Regions from separate parts of the Homo sapiens genome. Here regions 1, 2 and 3 are each linked to region 4. The links are contacts of gene promoters, found by promoter capture Hi-C in blood cells and fetal thymus (Javierre and others, 2016). All regions are on one chromosome and are shown on one strand. Each heading gives the region's core, a stretch centred on a gene start or on the middle of the fragment in contact. The rest is flanking DNA. Distances are from core to core; before and after follow the strand shown. Region 1 has its middle 6.3 kb from the start of GPT2. Region 2 has its middle 34 kb from the start of DNAJA2. Region 3 overlaps C16orf87 (chromosome 16 open reading frame 87). Region 4 holds the start of VPS35 (VPS35 retromer complex component).

What was found. Contacts are between HindIII fragments. The CHiCAGO score rates a contact against its expected background, and 5 or more counts as called.
Region 1: a contact is called between a fragment that was not itself captured here and the fragment with the promoter of VPS35 in region 4, in 3 of 17 cell types (naive CD4 T cells, naive B cells and naive CD8 T cells). The highest score is 6.5, in naive CD4 T cells.
Region 2: a contact is called between a fragment that was not itself captured here and the fragment with the promoter of VPS35 in region 4, in 1 of 17 cell types (naive CD4 T cells). The highest score is 5.2, in naive CD4 T cells.
Region 3: a contact is called between a fragment that was not itself captured here and the fragment with the promoter of VPS35 in region 4, in 16 of 17 cell types (megakaryocytes, erythroblasts, fetal thymus and 13 more). The highest score is 15.6, in megakaryocytes.

What each region holds. Positions count from the first base shown.
Region 1 is chr16:46,876,665-46,879,364 of GRCh38, forward strand. No RefSeq gene overlaps it. Among named protein-coding and RNA genes, the nearest start is that of GPT2, 6.3 kb to the right of the region's middle. The HindIII fragment of the contact is 2,979 bases long and covers 1-2,700 here.
Region 2 is chr16:46,938,494-46,941,193 of GRCh38, forward strand. No RefSeq gene overlaps it. Among named protein-coding and RNA genes, the nearest start is that of DNAJA2, 34 kb to the right of the region's middle. The HindIII fragment of the contact is 1,765 bases long and covers 426-2,190 here.
Region 3 is chr16:46,824,981-46,827,680 of GRCh38, forward strand. The region is part of intron 1 of C16orf87 (chromosome 16 open reading frame 87); the gene reads right to left. Among named protein-coding and RNA genes, the nearest start is that of C16orf87, 4.8 kb to the right of the region's middle. The HindIII fragment of the contact is 307 bases long and covers 1,145-1,451 here.
Region 4 is chr16:46,687,867-46,690,566 of GRCh38, forward strand. It overlaps VPS35 (VPS35 retromer complex component), which reads right to left and starts at 1,312. Exons shown (of 17, transcript NM_018206.6): 1 at 1,265-1,312. The coding sequence starts at 1,267. It overlaps ORC6 (origin recognition complex subunit 6), which reads left to right and starts at 1,793. Exons shown (of 7, transcript NM_014321.4): 1 at 1,793-1,904. The coding sequence starts at 1,840. RefSeq lists enhancers at 783-1,480, 1,481-2,179, 2,417-2,496, 2,547-2,616 and silencers at 1,017-1,066, 1,217-1,456, 1,777-2,076. The HindIII fragment of the contact is 9,040 bases long and covers 1-2,700 here.

The DNA of each region.
Region 1 (2,700 bases), core at 158-2,657, 190 kb after region 4:
GCCAAGACCGAAACGTGCCTGCCAGTGCTTTGAAATGTTATCAATGCAGTACTGAATTGTAAACACCACTTTTGTAAAATGTCTTTACTCAGTTTTAACCTCTGTAAGTTACATAAGAATGTGTCCCTTGTTTGTGTATAGCTTAGCTTAGTATCATAAGTTTATCTTTAATCCACTTTGAACGTCATGGTGAGAGCATTGGGATACATGTGTCCCGGCTATTAGCTCACCTAAACTAATATTTGCTTGTTAGAGGCAATGATTTGCTTCAAGGAGACTCAGAGCAAGTAGGATCTCAACGAAATTTCCCTGACCATCCCCTAAAAACTTGAGCCTGACTTAAATTAAAAAAAAAAAAAAAGAAGGCCGGGCACAGTGGCTCACACCTGTAATCCCAGCACTTTGGGAGGCAAAGGCGGGCGGATCCCTTGAGTCCAGGAGTTCAAGACCAGCCTGGGCAACATGGCAAAAACTTGTCTCTATGTAAAAACAAACAAACAAAAAAAAATGAGGCCTTCATTTAGAAAGAAAAACATGGGCCAGGCGTGGTGGCTCATGCCTGTCATCCCAGCACTTTGGGAGGCTGAGGCGGGCAGATCATGAGGTCAGGAGATCAAGACCATCCTGGCTAACACGATGAAACCCCATCTCTACTAAAAATACAAAAAATTAGCTGGGTGTGTTGGCGGCACCTGTAGTCCCAGCTACTTGGGAGGCTAAGGCAGGAGAATGGCGTGAACCGGGGAGGCGGAGCTTGCAGTAAGCCAAGATTGGGCCACTGCACTCCAGCCTGGGCGACAGAGCGAGACTCCATCTCAAAAAAAAGAAAAACACGAAGGACAAGGATTAAAGCTAACTAAAATGTAGGAGTTGGAGGGAGATTCCAAGCAAATACCCAAATACCTTCTAACACCCCCAGAAACTGCTCAGTCGCCATCTCTGAAAAAGGCCACAAACACTCTAAGATTTACACTCTTTCTCTTTTTAAATTATCTTCCATCACACAGGAAATCCTTATTCATATTATAATATGGTAAGATGTACATAAAATTTTCTATTTTAACTATTTGGGGGTGTACAGTTCAGTGACATTATATACATCCACATTATGCAACCATAACCACTGTTCATCTCCAGAACGTTTTCATGTTGCAAACTGAAACTATGTACTCATTAAACAGTAACTCCCAGCAGGGTGCGGTGGCTCATGCCTGTGATACCAGCACTTTGGGAGGCTGAGGCAGGCGGATCACAAGTTCAGGAGATGGAGACCATCCTGGCTAACATGGTGAAACCCCGTCTCCACTAAAAATACAAAAAATTACCCAGGCATGGTGGCATGCACCTGTAGTCCCATTTACTTCGGACGGAGGAGAATCACTTGAACCCAGGAGGCGGAGGTTGCAGTGAGCCCAGATTGTGCCACTGCACTCCAGCCTGGGCGACAGAGCGAGACTCTGTCTCAAAAAAAAAAACAAAAAAACAAAAAAAAAACACAAGAAACAGTAACTCCCCATTCCGCCTCCCCCCAGCCCTTGGTAACCTCTATTTTAATTTATTATTTATTTACTTTATTTTTGGTAGAGATAGGTTCTTACTATTTTGCCCAGGCTGATATCAAACTCCTGGGCTCAAGGGATCTGTCTGCTGTGGCCTCCCTAAGTGCTGGGATTACAGGTGTGAGTCACCACACCTGGCTGGTAACCTATATTTAAATTTCTGTCTCTATGTATTTGCCTATTCTGGGTACCTCAAATAAGTGGAATCATACATACTTATCCTTTTATATCTGGTGTATTTCACTTTACATAATGTCTTTAAGTTTCATCTGTGTTGTGGTATGTGTCACAATTTCCTTCCTTTTTAAGGCTGATTAATATTTCTTTTTTTTTTTTTTTTTTGAGACAGAGTCTTGCTCTGTCGCCCAGGCTGGAGTGCAGTGGCACAATCTTGGCTCACTGCAACCTCCACCTCCCGAGTTCAAGCAATTCTCCTGCCTCAGCCTCCCGAGTAGCTGGGATTACAGGCATGCGCTACCATGCCTGGCTAATTTTTGTATTTTTAGTAGAGACGAGGTTTCACCATGTTGGCCAGGCTGGTCTTGAACTTCTGACCTCGTGATCCGCCTGCCTCAGCCTCCCAAAGTACTGGTATTACAGGTGTGAGCCACCACATCAGGCCTGACTAATATTTCTTGTGTATATATACCACATTTTGTTCACCCATTCATCTGTCAATGGACATTTGGGTTGTTTCCACCTTTTAGCAGTTGCCATAATGCCATAATGAGCATTAGTTTATAATTATCTGTTCAAGTCTCAGCTTTCAATTCTTTCGTGATATACCCAGAAATGGAATTGCTAGATCATATGACCATTCTAGGTTTCTTTTTTAAAATTTATTTATTATTTTAAAAATTTCTTAAAACGTTGAAAGTACATTAAACAAAAAGAAAAATTAGTTACCAATAATCCCACCACTCAAAGATAACCACCATTAACAACAGTCAGGCATGGTGTCATGCAGCTGTAGACCCAGCTACTTGGGAGGCTGAGGAGGGTTAATGGCTTGAGTCCAGGAGTTTGAGGATCTAGTAAGATGATCATGCCACTGCACTTTAGCCTGGATGATAGAGGGAGACCCCATCTCAAAACACACACACAAACACACACACACAACAATAGAGTGTTGATGCTTTCA
Region 2 (2,700 bases), core at 58-2,557, 250 kb after region 4:
TAGTGAGACCAAGTCTCTACAAAAATAAAATAATTAGCCGGGCATGGTGGTGCATACTTGTAGTCCTAGCTACCCGAGACTACTTCCTGAGGCAGGAAGATGGTTTGAGCCCAAGAGTTGAAGTCTGCAGTAAGCTATGATCACACCACTGTACTCTAGCCTGGGTAACAGAGCAAGACCACATCTTTAAACCAAATGAAAAAAGAAACCCAAAAATAAATTAATTGGGCCTACCTAATGAAGACTGGTGCCATGGACATTTGTTTTTGGTGCAGATCTATATTGACATGTTGGCTCCAGTTAGGAACTAGGACCATTTGGACTCCTTGGCATTTACACAAGGTAAAGTCCTCCCCCAAAAGACCTTTGTGGGGCTTTGTCCTTTTATGGTTAAGTTAAGCTGCTGTTTGCCATTTCTAAACTAAAGCTTTAAAGCAAAATGCCCCCAGTCTTTCGGGCCAGCATCATGAAATACATTGGGTGTCAAAACCCCACTCATTCAAGGAAATATGGTATATAAGTGTGAGCGGCTGGGCACGTGAACCACTGCACCTGGCTGCCTGGAGTTTAATTTAATGGCCTTATCTTTGTTACCTACCAGGGCATCTGAATGAGTGTTGGCATATTTATAGATATGCTAAAGCCTCATGTTATTCATTCATCAAACACTGGCTTAGCAGCTGTGCACCAGGCACAGGGTTAAGTGATGGGGACACAGCAGTGACTAAGACCTGATCCCATGATTTATAAGGTTGATAATACCCCATGCTGGTAAGAGAGGGGAAGCCAACACTGATACACTGTTAGCAGTGGTGTGACTTTATACAACTTTTTTTTTTTTTTTTTGAGACAGTTTCACTCTTGTTGGCCAGGCTGGAGTGTGATGGCTCAGTCTTGGCTCACTGCAACCTCCACCTCCCAGGTACTGCAGCCTCCACCTCCCAGGTTCAAGCGGTTCTCCTGCCTCATCCTCCCAAGTAGCTGGGATTACAGGTGCCCACCACCACACCTGGCTAATTTACGGGGTTTCATCATGTTGGCAAGGCTGGTCACGAACTCCTGACCTCAGGTGATCCACACACCTTGGCCTCCCAAAGTGCTGGGATTACAGATGTGAGCCACCATGCCCGGCCAAATTTATACAACTTTTTGAGAGAGCATTTTGGTATCATCAGCATTCAATATACATATGCCTGTTCTAGGCCAGGTGCGGTGGCTCATTGCTGTAATTCCAGCACTTTGGGAGGCCAAGGTGAGTTGATCACCTGAGGTCAGAAGTTTGAGACCAGTCTGGACAACATGGCAAAAGTCTGTCTCTACTAAAAGTACGAAAATTAGCCAGGCGTGGTGGTGGGTGCTTGTAATCTCAGCTACTTGGGAGGCTGAGGCGCGAGAATCACTTGAACCTAGGGGCGGAGGTTGCAGTGAGCTGAGATCATGCCACTGCACTCCAGCCTGGGTGACACAGCAAGACTGTGTCTCAAAAACAAAAACAAACAAACAAACAAAAAAACATATGCCTGTTCTAAAACTATAGTAATCATCAGCCAGGCTTGGTGGGTCATGCCTGTAACCCCAGCACTTTGGAACGCCAAGGCTGGTGAATCCTTTGAGCCCAGGAGTTTGAGACCAGCCTGGGCAACATAGCGAAACCCCCGTCTCTACAAAAGACAGAAAAATTAGCCAGGTGTGGTAGCATGCGCCTGTAGCCCCAGCTACTTGGGAGACTGAGGTGAGAGGATCACTTTAGTCTGGGAGGCAGAGGCTGCAATGAGCTGAGATTGTGCTACAGCACTCCAGCCTGGGCGACAGAGTGAGACCCTGTCTCAAAAATAAAATAAATAAAACCATAGTAATCAAGACAGTCTGGTACTGCTGAAAGGGCAGACAAATAATGGAACAGAATAGAGTCCAGAAATAGACTCCCATGCATTTATCACTTTGGCATAAAATAGACCACATACATGTGTTGCATGCAATCACACACACGCATATATCTTTCACACACTTATGTTGACGAGTATGCCAAAGTAAACACAATGGAGAAGGAAAGTCTCTTCAATAAATGGCGCTAAAACACTTGGATGCTAAAGCATCCATATGGGGAAAAAATAAGCCTCAATGCCTACCTCTATATATGCTATATTTTAGATGGATTGCAGACCTAAAATTTAAGAGCTAAAATTGTAAAGCTTCTAGAGGAAAACCTAAGAGAATATCTTTGCAACTTTGAGATCCACAAATATTTCTTTCTTTTTTTTTTTTTTGAGACAGAATCACTCTGTCGCCCAGGCTGGAATGCAGTGGCACCATCTCAGCTCACTGCAACTTCTGCTGCCTGGGTTCAAGTGATTCTTCTGTTTCAGCCTCCCAAGTAGCTGGGATTACAGGTGTGAGCCACCATGTCTGGTTAATTTTTATATTTTTAGTAGAGATGGGGTTTCACCATGTTGGCCAGGCTGGTCTTGAACTCCTGACCTCGAGAGACCCACCTGCCTTGGCCTCCCAAAGTGCTGGGATTATAGGCGTGAGCCACCATGCCCAGCCAGAGACATGGAAATATTTTTTAGGATAAAAAGGCACAAATTGGCTGGGCTCGGTGGCTCACGCCTGTCATACTAGCACTTTGGGAGGCCAAGGCGGGTGGATCGCGAGGTCAGGAGTTTGAGACCAGCCTGGCCGATATGATGAAACCCTGTT
Region 3 (2,700 bases), core at 48-2,547, 140 kb after region 4:
TACTGCTTAACAAAACCATGAAGACTATACCATACCAATACCATAAAAAATAAATATGTATTAAATATGCACTGATGTGAGTGACCAATAGAAAACTGTAATAGGGTCAGAGCAAGGGGAAGTATGTGGAAAAAAAGGTAGCATTTCCTAAAATGTTAGTTTGACAGCTTTTTACGGTATAGAACAAATTTGAAAAGGGTGAGTGGGTAGGAAGTCATTAAAGTAATCCTGGTAAAAGATTATGAAGGACCAAGTGGAATAGTGAGAACGGAAATGGAAAAAGGTAGATCTGCCAGAGTTTCCAAGGCAAGAAAAACAGACAAAGGCCCAAACTGATGACTGGTGATAAAGTGGGAAGAAGTGAAAATAACTCAGGATTCTAACATGAGAGGAGAAGATATCAACTACCACTGACAAAGAATAAAGAATAGTTTATAGCAACCAGATTTTTCTTAAATTCTTAAATTGTTGTGGGTAGATAGTAGGTGTACATGTTTATGGGGTACACTAATATAGACATGCAATGCGTAACAATCACATCATGGAAAATTGGGTATTCAACCCCTCAAGCATTCTTCCTTTTTGTTACAAACAATCTATACTCTTTTAGTTATTTTTAAATGTACAATTAAATTATTATTGACTATAGGACTGGGCGCAGTGGCTCACACCTGTAATCCCAGCACTTTGGGAGGCCGAAGCAGGTGGATCACTTGAGGTCAGGAGTTTGAGACCAGCCTGACCAACATGGTGAAACCCCGTCCCTACTAAAAAAAATACAAAATTAGCCAGGCGTCATGGCACATGCCTGTAATCCCAGCTACTTGGGTGGCTGAGGCAGGAGAATCGCTTGAACCTGGAAGGCAGAGGTTGCAGTGAGCCAAGAGTGCACTATTGCACTCTAGCCTGGGCAACATGAGCAAGACTCTGTCTCAAAAAAAAAAAAAAAAAAAATTATTATTAACTATAGTCCCCCTGTTGTGCTATCAAATATTAGGTCTTATTCTTTCTAACAACAACCAGTTTGAGGGGCAAAAGTATGCTGACATAAAAAAAGAGAATGTAGGAGAAGGTAGGAATTTAGATCCAGAATCTTATATCTTAGTTCCAGGAATGACTCCGGACAAGATATTTAAGATCTTCAAGCTTCTGTTTCCAAATCTGCAAAATACGTAAATTTCCTTTCTCTACTCCAAACTTATAACTGTTTTTTAAGCCAAGTGCTACTGAAAATCATTGAAAAAATTTTTTAGTTTTCCCCATAATCATTTCACCCATATCAAAGTTAATGATCCTTGGAATCAAGACATGTTCACCAAAAGTCTGAAACTAATCTCAACGAAAAAGTATTTACAGAATAATTACAGTAAGAAAACTGCAATTCCCTTTGTAAGATAAATTCCCCCATTTGGCAGTTGTTCTGCTATGTAAAAACTGAGTTAAAATTATGAAGCTTTTTATCTATGTATGTACAGAATGCCTCATGTTATAGAATCTAAACACTTGATCTAATTGAGCTAAATTGAAATTTTGGCAGAATAATTCCTTTTCTTTGTATAAAAACATTGAACAAAGGATCTCCAATTTGTATTTAAGAAAAATAACAAAGAAATCAATAAAAATAATCAAACTCCAGATTTGTCTAACAGCTTGCTTTGTTAAGAATGTAATGAGATCCCTTCAAATCACGACAAAAAAAATGCTACATTTTTTAAATAGTGTAAAATCTGTCTAAAATAGATGTCTGACATTTTTTCAAATTTCGTATCTTCATAGAAACCAAGCTCAAAGGCACTGACTCATTTCCTTTACACCTAAACATATTATTAAGGGCATCCACAGTAATGTAAATTGTTTTAAATTAATGCTATCCAAAATACGCAAATGCATGTTCTTACTCAACAGCTCCTTTCCTAATCAGCAAGCATTTTCTTCCAGCTACTGAAACTCAATAAATTTGAATTTGGGTTTCAGTCTTATACAAAAGAACTTCATATCAATCCATCTCCAGAATTAACAGTGTTGCAGTTAGATGAGAAGTATACATTTGGCTTTGGGACCCAGAATGCACAAACACTGACTAACTGAATTAACAGGTTGATTTTCATCCACAAATGAAAGTGTTTTATGCTCAATAAACCCTCATGTGCCTGAGTTAATTCATTCTATAGTTTGAGTTAATTCATTCTATAGTCTGAGTTAATTCATTCTATAGTCCTATTTAAAATAAAAAGTTCCTTCCCCACAACCTCTGCCCTGGAAAACAAAAAACAAAAAACACACCACCACCACCATCACCACCCTAGATCCTGTAAAAAGAATTATCAAATAGGTTGGACAACTTCAGTAATATTAACCTCATTTCATTAATTATAGTATAATTTAGATTTTAAACAAACACACTAAAGTTTCTTTAAATTTCAGTTGATAATACTAAACCTAACAGTACTGAAATTCTAATATTACACTTTCAGGATTTTAAAAAAAAGAAAATATTCAAAGTATTGTTTACTGATAGTTTACTGGGCATTAATTCACTTTTTTAAAAAAAGATTTAGGTTGTTTGTATGTTTTACAAGTAAAACAGATTTTTTATTTATTTATTTATCTTTTTTTTTTGAGACGAAGTCTCACTCTTGTCCCCCAGGCTGGAGTGCAATGGCGCGATCTTGGCTCACTGCAACCTCTGCCTCCCAGATT
Region 4 (2,700 bases), core at 62-2,561:
TTCATGAGGACAAGACTGTGTGTCTGGCTGATTGCTCCCAACTGGTTCACCCAACAAAGAATCGGAGTGTGTAATACATCCTCAATTAAGTGTTTTCCATTACAAAACAATATAAATGTCAATCCATAAACGCTGGAAACACACAAATCCTAAAGTTAAATTTTGCGCCGGTCTTGTATCAATTCCCAATTATAAAAATCCTGAGAAACAGGCAAAATCACCTTGTACGGCAACACGTTATATGAAAATAGTATTTGTAAAACACTTAATCCTTTCTGGCATTAAGACATTTAAAGTGAAATCTGTTTCCAGGCTTACAGATTTACAGAAGCCTATCTACACAGAGTGAGTAAGGTAATTAAAGCGGACATACAGTATATACTCAAAAAATTTATTTACACAGTGCAGGCTATGTTAAACGCTAATAAAATGCAAGTGACAACTTGCCTTTGTGGGAACCAGACACAAAGATTCACATTTTGAGGAAGTTCAAGTTTACCGGCCAACAGCCACACCACGATTTGCTGCCGTCATAGACGGGCCCTAAGGAGAAGTACTGCTTCCAGCAAGTCAAATACTTGGATTTTATCAATGGCGAGACAAAAGAGGCAAGGTGCGCCCAATGCACAAATGCTAAAGTAAACAATCAGTCTCCTTTGCGACCGTCAGGATTAGAAGACAGCCTGAGTCCTTCCAGGAAATTCATGTAAGCAGGTCCCCAGAACTCGCTGACAAACACTGCAGCCGAAGGCGGGTATGAGGCCAAGAAAGGCCAAGGAATCACTGCGACCCCTCCAGGAGGGCGTGGGGACGGCCGAGCACAACTAGGCACAAAGGTAGAAACGCAACATCTGGGCGGGTCCCGGCGCCACCTCCGAGTCTCAGGGCCTCCACGCGCCCCGGGGGCCAGACGCTCAGACCTAGGACTACCGGTCCCCTCGTGGTAGGCAGGTGACCGATTCCACTTAAAGGAGGCCGCAGGCCTTCATGGACCCCAAAGCCTACATGCCAAGTCAACCCCACAGAGAGGCCGCCCCGTCTCTCAGCAACGGCCGCAGCCAAGAGCCGCCGCCCACCCCGGCCCGGATCAGCCTGCCCGCGGCCTTCCTCCTGCTGTCCCCTATCCCGCAGGCCAAATCGGGCTGGTCTTAATCCCGAACGGTCTGTGGGGCCCCTTCTCCACTCGCTGGAGTGCGGGGCGGTGGGAGAGAGCAGGGGCTACAAGGAGGGTCGACCCAGGTGCCACTGCCCCCTCAGCACTCACCATGGCGACTCCCCAGAGCCTGCAGCAAGCAGCACCCGCCCCGCGCGTAGCCTCCCGCGGTCATGTGACGCTGCGGCCCCTCCAAGCCCCGCCCTCTCTAGCCCCGCCCCCGGGCCCTACAGGCGGCTCATTGATTGGCCTACTTCTAGGAACCCGAGTCTCGCGTGCTTATTGGCCCTGTCACTTAACGCTAGATGGACGGACCTGAGCGCCAGCCAATCTCACCACAGCGTGCGAGAGTGGGCGGAGCAGTGCAGGGCAGTGGGGATCGCCCGGCGGCAGGCAGGAGACAACAGGAGGGAAAGGCAGTGTGTGATGAGTTTGTCAAGAAGGAATGGAAGGAGGGGGAGCCGACAAGTCCACGTTCACCGCATCTGCGTTGGCGATTGCGCTATTGATGCGCATGCGCAAAAGGAAGACCCTGATTGGTTTGTGGGACGGTCTCAACGTCCTGTCCTAACCAATCCAGATGCGCCGGGGGTGGGGCCTGGCTCTCACTGGCCGGTGCAGCCTTTGCGCGCGGGTTTCGTTGACCCGCGGCGTTCACGGGAATTGTTCGCTTTAGTGCCGGCGCCATGGGGTCGGAGCTGATCGGGCGCCTAGCCCCGCGCCTGGGCCTCGCCGAGCCCGACATGCTGAGGTGAGTTCGGCCGCGCAAGACCAGGGCTGGGCTTCCGCCTCGCGGCCCTGGGCCCTCAGGTGAGGCCCGCGCCCTTCCCAGGCGACGGGCGGCGGGGGAGTGACGGGGAGCGCTGGGGCCGGGCGGGGTTTAGGGCCTACTTCAAGAAAAACTTCTCGGCCGTGAGCTTGAATGAGATGGCAAGAAGGGCGATAGCAAACGGCGATGGCACACGTCCCTGGGAACAGCCAGCCCTGTCCGTGGGTAGAAAAATGAGCCAGGGAGAACTTTCCGTTCATTCCGCCAACGCCTACTGCAGTCGGGTTTATAGCGGGGAACCCGACAACGAGGCGCAGACCCCGCTGTCTGTAAGGGCGAGGACTGTGTAGACCTTAACCGGGCAATGCTCCTGAGCCACTGGGCTTGGGGTGGAGCGCGGCCTAGCGGCTGCCTTTAACACAAAGAAACAAACAAAACTCGGAAAAGCAGGCGCCGTTCCCGCTGAGGCCGGATTGATGGCAGATGCTAGGCGAGGAAAGATATGGCAAGAGCAGCCCAGGCAGGGGCGACAGCTCCTGTAAAAGCGTTGAGATGGGAAGCGGGATCCGGGGTTCGAAATAAAGCCATTGTAGCTAAAACGTGGAGCAGTCAGGCGAGGGAAGGCAAGGAAAACAGCACTTAAAAGATTTGAAGACAAACCTGCAGGACTCGGTAGTCATTTAGAACAGTGGTTCTCAAAATGTGGTTCCTGGACCAGCAACAGCCATATCATCTTGTCACTTGTTAGAAATACAAATTCTTGGGTCCCACCTCAAGC